2 separate regions of the Homo sapiens genome follow, and region 1 is linked to region 2. The links are contacts of gene promoters, found by promoter capture Hi-C in human tissues and cell types (Jung and others, 2019). All regions are on one chromosome and are shown on one strand. Each heading gives the region's core, a stretch centred on a gene start or on the middle of the fragment in contact. The rest is flanking DNA. Distances are from core to core; before and after follow the strand shown. Region 1 overlaps DCBLD2 (discoidin, CUB and LCCL domain containing 2). Region 2 holds the start of GPR15 (G protein-coupled receptor 15).

Region 1 (4,046 bases), core at 455-2,954, 270 kb before region 2:
CTGCCTTTGGTGTTAATATGGCTTTTGTTTGTCTGTTTTTGTCTTTGTAACTTCAGATGTAGCGCTGGCTGCAGTTCTTGTCCCTGTGCTGGTCATGGTCCTCACTACTCTCATTCTCATATTAGTGTGTGCTTGGCACTGGAGAAACAGGTTAGTACATAACTAGTTCACCTGAGTCCAAAACTACCAAATGTGAAGTAGAAGCTAAATATAGAAGATGAAAATGTTTACCTGTTTGAGAGTGAGAGTTAAGGTAATTATTAAAATGAAAATTTCATGCTTCTCCTTTATTCCCATTAAAAATAAATAAGTTCAATTCCACAATCAGTTACTAAGTACCTTTTTTGTATCAAGTTCTGCATTATACACTGGGATATGTACATTAATATGAACAATTTCTGACACATGATAGTTACATTTACTTAAAGAATGAGACACAATTCCTTTCTCTGAAGTGTTTAGCAGGGTTGACTAACAAGGAACTATATCATGTGGTTTGATGAGTTATGAACCATGAGAATTAACTGAAGTTTTTTCTTCGGGAAAGGGGACTCCTCAAGTTTGGCTTGCTTTGCCTTAAAGGAATTGTAGTTGGCTAGATAGAGGAAGGTAGATGTCTTTGTTTGGGATGCTGTAAGAAAATACCATAACCTGGGTGACATAAATAATAGAATTGATTTCTCACAGTTCTGGAGGCTGAGAAGTCCAAGATCAAAACACTGCAGATACTATGACTAGTGAGGGCCTGCCGTCTGGCTCATTCATCAACAGTGCCTTCTTGCCCGATCCTCTCATGGTGGAAGGGATAAACACGCTCTCTCAGGCCTTTCCTGTAAGGGCACCAATCCCATTCATGAGGACTCTGCCTTCATGACCTAATCACTTACCAAAGCCCCACTTTCTAACGGGGGTTAGGATTTCAACATATGAATTTTGGAGAGATGCAAATATTCAGACCATAGCACTAGCAAATGGCCCAACCTGAGCCAATTGTTTGAGTGAAGGCACAGAGATATGGAATGTAGGCAAAATAGTGAGTCATCGCATGTACGCTTGGCGTGGGAGAGTCCTGAGAAATAACCATAGAGGTTCAGTCTGGGCCTGGATCAGGAAAGGCTTTTCTGGAAGAGAGAAATTTAGATTTCATTCTATAGATGGAAAGTCACTTGAGTGTCAAGCAAAGAGGTGATATTGTCAGATGATTGTACAAAGATGGTGGCAGTTTTGAAGGGTAGATTGAAGAGGAGAGAGGCTGAGAGACTTAGCAAGATGAGTTAGGAAACCACTGAGGCCAGGCAGGCACATAACACACTGATTCTAGGAAAGGGAGAAGAGATGGAGTGGAGATGTTTCCCAGTAGCATTGACAGGATGTATGACTAGTTGTCTAGTAAGGAAGAAGTGATACAGGAGGAATCTGAGGTTTCTGGCTTGTGCAGTTAGACCAGTAGAGGTGTCATGAGTTGAGATAACACAGCAGGAAGGACAGGTTTGGTGGAGAATGAAAATGACTTCATTTGTTCAGCCATGCAACAAGTATTTGAATATTTGGCTGTTACCCTATGTCAAGTATTGAGCCATGTGCTGGGGATTCCAGTGATGAACCCCAAAGCTTACAGATTAGGAACGGATGCAATGCAAAAAAAACTCCCAGCTGTAACACCAGCCATAGAATATATGCCATGGGAGGAAGCTAGTGGATCCCAGCTTCATGAACAGGCTGTCTAAGCAGAGACACAGCAAATTAGTATGAGAACAATAGGGAAAGGAAAGGACTTTAGGAAATTCCAAAGAGGAGAGAGTATGATGCATTTAAGGAACTTAGCAACAACAGTGATAGTAGTGATGAGGCCCGCAGCAGCAGAAGCTAATTTTTATAGAAAATTGAATGCTAATCTTAGTCACTATTCTACATAATTATTCCAAATACCTGTATTTTCTATTTTCAATTTTATTTTAGTGATTTAAAAATTTAGGAAAGTTTCACATCTCTACACAGATGGAATGCATAGTGTAACAAGCTTTTGTGTATCTGCAAAAGCTTCTGCAGTTACCACCACATGCCCAGTCTTGACAACATGCACCTCTACGCAAATTATTCTAAATACCTGAATTAATTAATTTAATCCTCAAAACAATCTACGAAGCAGGCACTATAATAAGCCCCGTTTTACAGAAGGAGAAAATGAGACACAACATAAATAACTTGCCTAGTTATGGGCAAATAACTTGCCTAGTTTATGGGCATAAATAACCTGCCTAGTTATTGCCTAGTACATGGGCAGAGGGGAGTTTTGGACCAGACTTGAGAGATCGTGCTCTTACCCACTGCTGCTCTGAACACATAATAAATAAAGTATAACTCACTGTTATTAAAGCACAGGGTGTGAGGGGGAGGACTGAGGAGTGCCGCTGTTGAGAGGGCAGAAGTCAGACAGAGCCTGAGGTCAGTTTGGGATGGTGTTGAAAGGACCCTGTGGACATCCAGACTCCTGAGGCAATTCGACCACACACCTGGCGTTAAGGACACGATCTGAGCTGGAGAATTGAAGTTACTGTTAGGAACGTAGTTGAAATCACTGATGAGTGTGGCTTTATGACAAGGAGTAAAGGAGCAGATACCATTAATATGCTGTGGAAAATAGGGAGGATGAGAATGATAATAAAAACAGCTGCAGCTTATTGAATCCAGAGCTCATTCTAAGCACTTTATACGTAATGAATAAGTAACCAGAAGCTTTGTCACTTATGTGTATAAAATCCTTTATAGTACAACCTATGGCTAATATTGATGCCATAAATTTGTTGTCCTAGCAATATAGGGCATCTAACTTCTATTTAGAAAAGATGATTTATTTATTTTTTTATTTCTAAATCATGTGATGATTAGAGCATTTTCAGGGAGAAAGGTGTTTAATCAGTATTTTTTTTTATTTCTTTTCCATTCAAGTGTTTCATTAACATCTTCAACACTCATTATCTTTTCCACAAATTTTTTATTATGCTGTACTTTGAAATAATGAAATAAGTATACCTACGCTTTAAAATGAGGATGCATTTAGTATCAAAAATATAGTCTTATACTGGAGAATGTTTCCCAGTAGGAAAAGCACATGGCTTGGGCTTTTTATGAAAACCACATTTGTGGTGCTCACTTCGGCAGCACATATACTAACATTGGAACGACACAGAGAAGATTAGCATGGCCCCTGTGCAAGGATGACACGCAAATTCATGAAGCGTTCCATATTTTTAATTGACCACATAGTTGAAAGTAAAGCACTCATCAGCAAATGTAACAGAAAAGAAATTATAACAAACTGTCTCTCAGACCACAGTTCAATCAAACAAGAACTCAGGATTAAGAAACTCACTCAAAACCACTCAACTACATGGAAACTGAACAACCTGCTCCTGAATGACTACTGGGTACATAATGAAATGAAGGCAGAAATAAAGATTTTCTTTGAAACCAATGAGAGCAAAGACACAACATACCAGAATCTCTGGGACACATTCAAAGCAGTGTGTAGAGGGAAATTTATAGCACTAAATGCCCACAAGAGAAAGCAGGAAAGTTCTAAAATTGACACCCTAACATCACAATTAAAAGAACTAGAGAAGCAAGAGCAAACACATTGAAAAGCTGCAGAAGTCAAGAAATAACTAAGATCAGAGCAGAACTGAAGGAGATAGAGACAAAAAACCCTTCAAAAAATCAGTGAATCCAGGAGCTGGTTTTTTGAAAAGATCAACAAAATTGATAGACTGCTAGCAAGACTAATAAAGAAGAAAAGAGAGAAGAATCAAATAGATGCAATAAAAAATGATAAAGGGGATATCACCACCGATCCCACAGAAATACAAACTACCATCAGAGAATACTACAAACACCTCTATGCAAATAAACTAGAAAATCTAGAAGAAATGGATAAATTCCTGGACACATACACCCTCCCAAGACTAAACCAGGAAGAAGTTGAATCCCTGAATAGACCAATAACAGGCTCTGAAATTGAGGCAATAATTAATAGCCTACCAACCAAA
Region 2 (4,011 bases), core at 24-2,523:
TCCTCTCTTTAAAAATGAACTCTTCCTTGCATCTATGAAGCAATGTGAATCCTATCATTAACACTTCCTTCTTTGTTGCTGACAAAAATTAACTCCTAAACCCACCAACAGAGCTTGAAATGTCACAGTTCCCTTTAGAGTGACACAGACCTCTTCCTCCTCCTGGCAAAATCTTCTGCATGAATGAAGGTGGAGAGAGCCTTAGTGAGGTGACTATCTGATGTCTCAGTGCTACTCCCAAAGTCATAGTTTTTCAGGCAAGGGCACAAGCAGTGGACAATGGCCCGGCGGATGTAGCTGTCGAAGATATAGTAAATGAAAGGGTTGACACAGCTGTTGGCAAATGCCAAGGGTCCACTCACCTCCATACCAAGCTGAAGAATAGCTGAGGGTAAATAGTGTTCTTGCCGCAACCCAGAGACAATGGCCAGGAACTTGAAAGTATTGAAGGGCAGCCAGGAGACAAGAAAGGCTGCCACGACAATAAAGATGATCTTTATAGATTTCTTCAGCTTTTTGTTGTGCTTTCCTGATTGCTGGTAATGGGCACACAGCTTCCTTGCAATGCAACAGTAGCAGGTCACAATGCTCAACAAAGGGACAAAAAAGGTGAAAATTAAGGCCACCAGGGACCATATGAGTTTAATTGGAGTTGCCTTTTTCTCTGCACAGTATGGCTTATCATCAATCAGCGTGAGCTCCCTGGACAGAAGAGTAGGCAACCCCAGCAGGCAGGAGATAAACCAGATGCTGGCACAGACTACATATGCACAGTCTGTCCTTCTGAATTTCCTGGATACGACTGGCCACACAATGGCCAGGTAGCGGTCAACACTCATGCAAGTGAGCAGGAGGACACTGCAGTGCATATTGACGGAGATCATGTAGGAGCTCCCTTTGCACAGGAAGGAGCCCGTCCTCCACAGTCCTAGAGATGCTTCTTTATCCACCCAGAGAGGCAATGTGACAAGAAAAATGAAGTCAGAGGCAGCCAGATTGATGATAAAGATGTCGATCAGTCTTCGGCTGCCGGGTTTGAAATGCAACGCTCCCATGAGAACAAGGTTCCCCAGCACTCCAGTCAGGAACACAGCTGTGTAAAAGACTGGAAGGAAGACAGAGGTGTAAGGAACATGGGAGTGGGTCTCCCTGATGTCAGAGTTTGGGCTCGTAGCATAGTAATAATCCAAATAAACTGAAGTTTCTTCTGGGTCCATCACCAAAGAGCAGATGCCAAATCTGGTGAGTTTACTTACATATGATGTTTTTGTATAAATTTTAGAAACCTCAAGGAAGCTTCTTTTATACAGTGCCTGCCTCTCTCTCTCTTTTTTCCCCTCCCTTTAAAGATCTTGGACAAACATGAAAGCCGAGATTAAAAAATGCAGTTTCTACCAATCCTCAGAAAGGGCACACAAGGAGCACCACTCTGATTGGTGTTGGTTGGTTGTGGTTGTGGTTTTTTTAATTTGCATTTGCTCGTGAAACTGAGGTGCTTTTTGAGTTATTTTTTCAAGATATTCAATTTATTTCTTTAAGGCCAGTAATTAAGAAGTGAATTAACTTGATTTTTTCACTTCCTTTAAAGACCTCCTTTGCTTTTGACACTGAAATTTATTTTGATCTAGCCTTCTGTTTCACATAGAAGATATTGTTCTGCTTTTAGAATTGTAAGGCAATGATAATGTATTCTTTTTATTTACTTTGTTGGCGAACTAGGAAGAAAACTAGTCTTTCATTGTGTAAAGAGTGAATGAAAAGTTTCCCAAATCATACCAGTATACAACTAGGTCAAACAACATGATTCCATTTAGGGCATGAGAGTCTCCCCATCTATGTGGCTCTTTCATTTGACATGTAGTCAATCCTGTTTCATAAGTTTTTAAAAATCCCCCCCCAAAGACTGGGACCACGTTTTCTGCTCTTATTATTTTAAGTTTTCCACTACAACTTGCATAGCATCTTGCATATAGTTGGTGCTTTGGAAATTGTAGTTTATTAGGTTTGATTCAGAAAATTCTTTTTGTTATCCAGCATATCTAGTAGAAATGAATTCATTGGGGTCTAACTTCAGGTATTGTTGTTATTTATGTAACTTACAAACACAGGTTTAACAATCTCAAGTTGCTATTTTTACCCTCCTATCTGCTATTGTAATTCAACCAGTGAAGTTCTCTTTTGTTAAGAGTTAACATCATTGATTAGGAGATTTTCTCCCTATTAACCCTCAAATACGCTTCATCAGACTCTGGATCCCCTCTGATCTTCTCTTCATTATACCACACCTGTGTAGCACTGATTTTTTTAGCTTCTGAGCCATGGCCTTCTGGTACCTCCACACATGGGTGAACATCACTTTTGGAATTGCTGATTGCTGATCTGGCAACAGATATACCTATAAGTGACATCATGATGGAGGTGCCAGCATGGACACTATAAAAGGGAAGATTTTTTAGTACATTTAAAACACTTGGGGAACAGGCTAAAACAGAAAGAATTCTATCACATTTTTCTCTCATATGTTTCCTTTTATATTATGATGACCATAGTAAAATATAACACATTTTGAAACGGACTCCATTTATTTCAGCTCTTTACTGGTCAAAGTGACTCAAGGCTCTCTTGCACTATTCTTCTCTCCTATCTGATTTAATCTTCAGAATTCTAGTTTCAGGTTGATATTGCTATTCATAGAAAAATGTATGTTTGTAGATGAAAATATAGTCATTAAACATTTGAAGTCCTTTCTTAAGTTGTTTTTTCATTTGTTTGTTTGTTTAATTTTTGAGACAGGGTCTCACTAGGGTCTCACTTTGTCACCCAGGCTGGAGTGCAGTGTCTTGAACACAGCTCACTGCCAGGCCCATGCAATCCTCCCACCCCAGCCTCCTGACTAGCTAAGACTACAGGCATGCACCACCATGCCCGACTAATTTTTGTATTCTTTGTAGAGACGGGTTTTCGCCATGTTGCCCAGGCTGGTCAGGAACCCCTGAGCTCGAGCAATCTATCCGCCTTGGCTTCCCAGAATGCTGGGATTACAGGCATGGGCCACCAAGCCTGGCCCTACTGAATTGTTATTTCTTCAGTAATTAGTATATTAAAAAGAATCATCCTGCCGGTTGTACTTCCTCCTTCCCTCTTCCTCCTGATATGGTCTAGTGTCACCTGAGTCTTAGGCAAGTAAGCTGAGGTCAGGGAAGGATAAAGGCTCCTCTGACCTGGGACAGTCCCAGAAGTCACTCTGGAGTTGATTTGTGGGCCTGAGCCTGCCTTCTCCTGTGTCCCTGGCTGCTGTGCGCAATTCATTTAATTTCATGGAGGGCATATTCTTTACTAAATATAGACTACAGATCAGAGAAACTAATTAACCGCTTTGACATTTCTGGGACAGAAATCTTTCCCACTGGGTAAGCTTTAATTATTTAATAGAATAATTCATTTTGTCAAAAATTGAAGTAGGACAATATTTACTCAAAAAAGATTAATAGGGTAATATAGAATATTTAAACATATCATCTATATCTGTGTGCCTGTGTGTTAAAGTACTAATCATATATATTCTTTAAGTGTACTGAAATTTTAATATTAGAATTTTGTACCCTACAATCATAAGTTCTTTTGGCATTTGAGAAAATAAGGTTGATTCTGGGTCTACGGTTTTTCTTCTTTTTTTTAATCCTTTGATATGTCTCAAGAATTCAACATAAAGGTATTATAAAATGGAAAAAGAGTTCATGCTCATACTGTAGAGGAAAATATTTGGCTGCACATTCATTCTGTATCCCTTAAATTTTTTTTTTCAAATTTCAAAAGTTGCTGGACCGCTGATGTAAACTATCTCAAATCCAATTTCCTCAGCAAACTATTGAAGCAGTTGTAGATAAAATAGTTTGCTTTATCATTATGTGGCCACCTTGAAGTATGATATTTAATGGTAGAATGTTACAATGTGAGAATACCCACCTTGGATCAACAGCATCTTTGTACCCAAATCAGAAAACAAATTAA

Evidence for each region. Contacts are between HindIII fragments. The study calls those that stand out against the background at their distance.
Region 1: a contact is called between a fragment that was not itself captured here and the fragment with the promoter of GPR15 in region 2, in 1 of the 25 tissues and cell types used here (lymphoblastoid cells).

What each region holds. Positions count from the first base shown.
Region 1 is chr3:98,804,185-98,808,230 of GRCh38, reverse strand. DCBLD2 (discoidin, CUB and LCCL domain containing 2) reads left to right here. Exons shown (of 16, transcript NM_080927.4): 13 at 57-150. It also overlaps the pseudogene RNU6-26P. Among named protein-coding and RNA genes, the nearest start is that of ST3GAL6, 43 kb to the right of the region's middle. The HindIII fragment of the contact is 3,643 bases long and covers 1-3,525 here.
Region 2 is chr3:98,529,240-98,533,250 of GRCh38, reverse strand. GPR15 (G protein-coupled receptor 15) reads right to left here and starts at 1,273. Exons shown (of 1, transcript NM_005290.4): 1 at 1-1,273. The coding sequence starts at 1,217. The coding sequence ends at 135. RefSeq lists a silencer at 1,253-1,412. The HindIII fragment of the contact is 5,385 bases long and covers 453-4,011 here.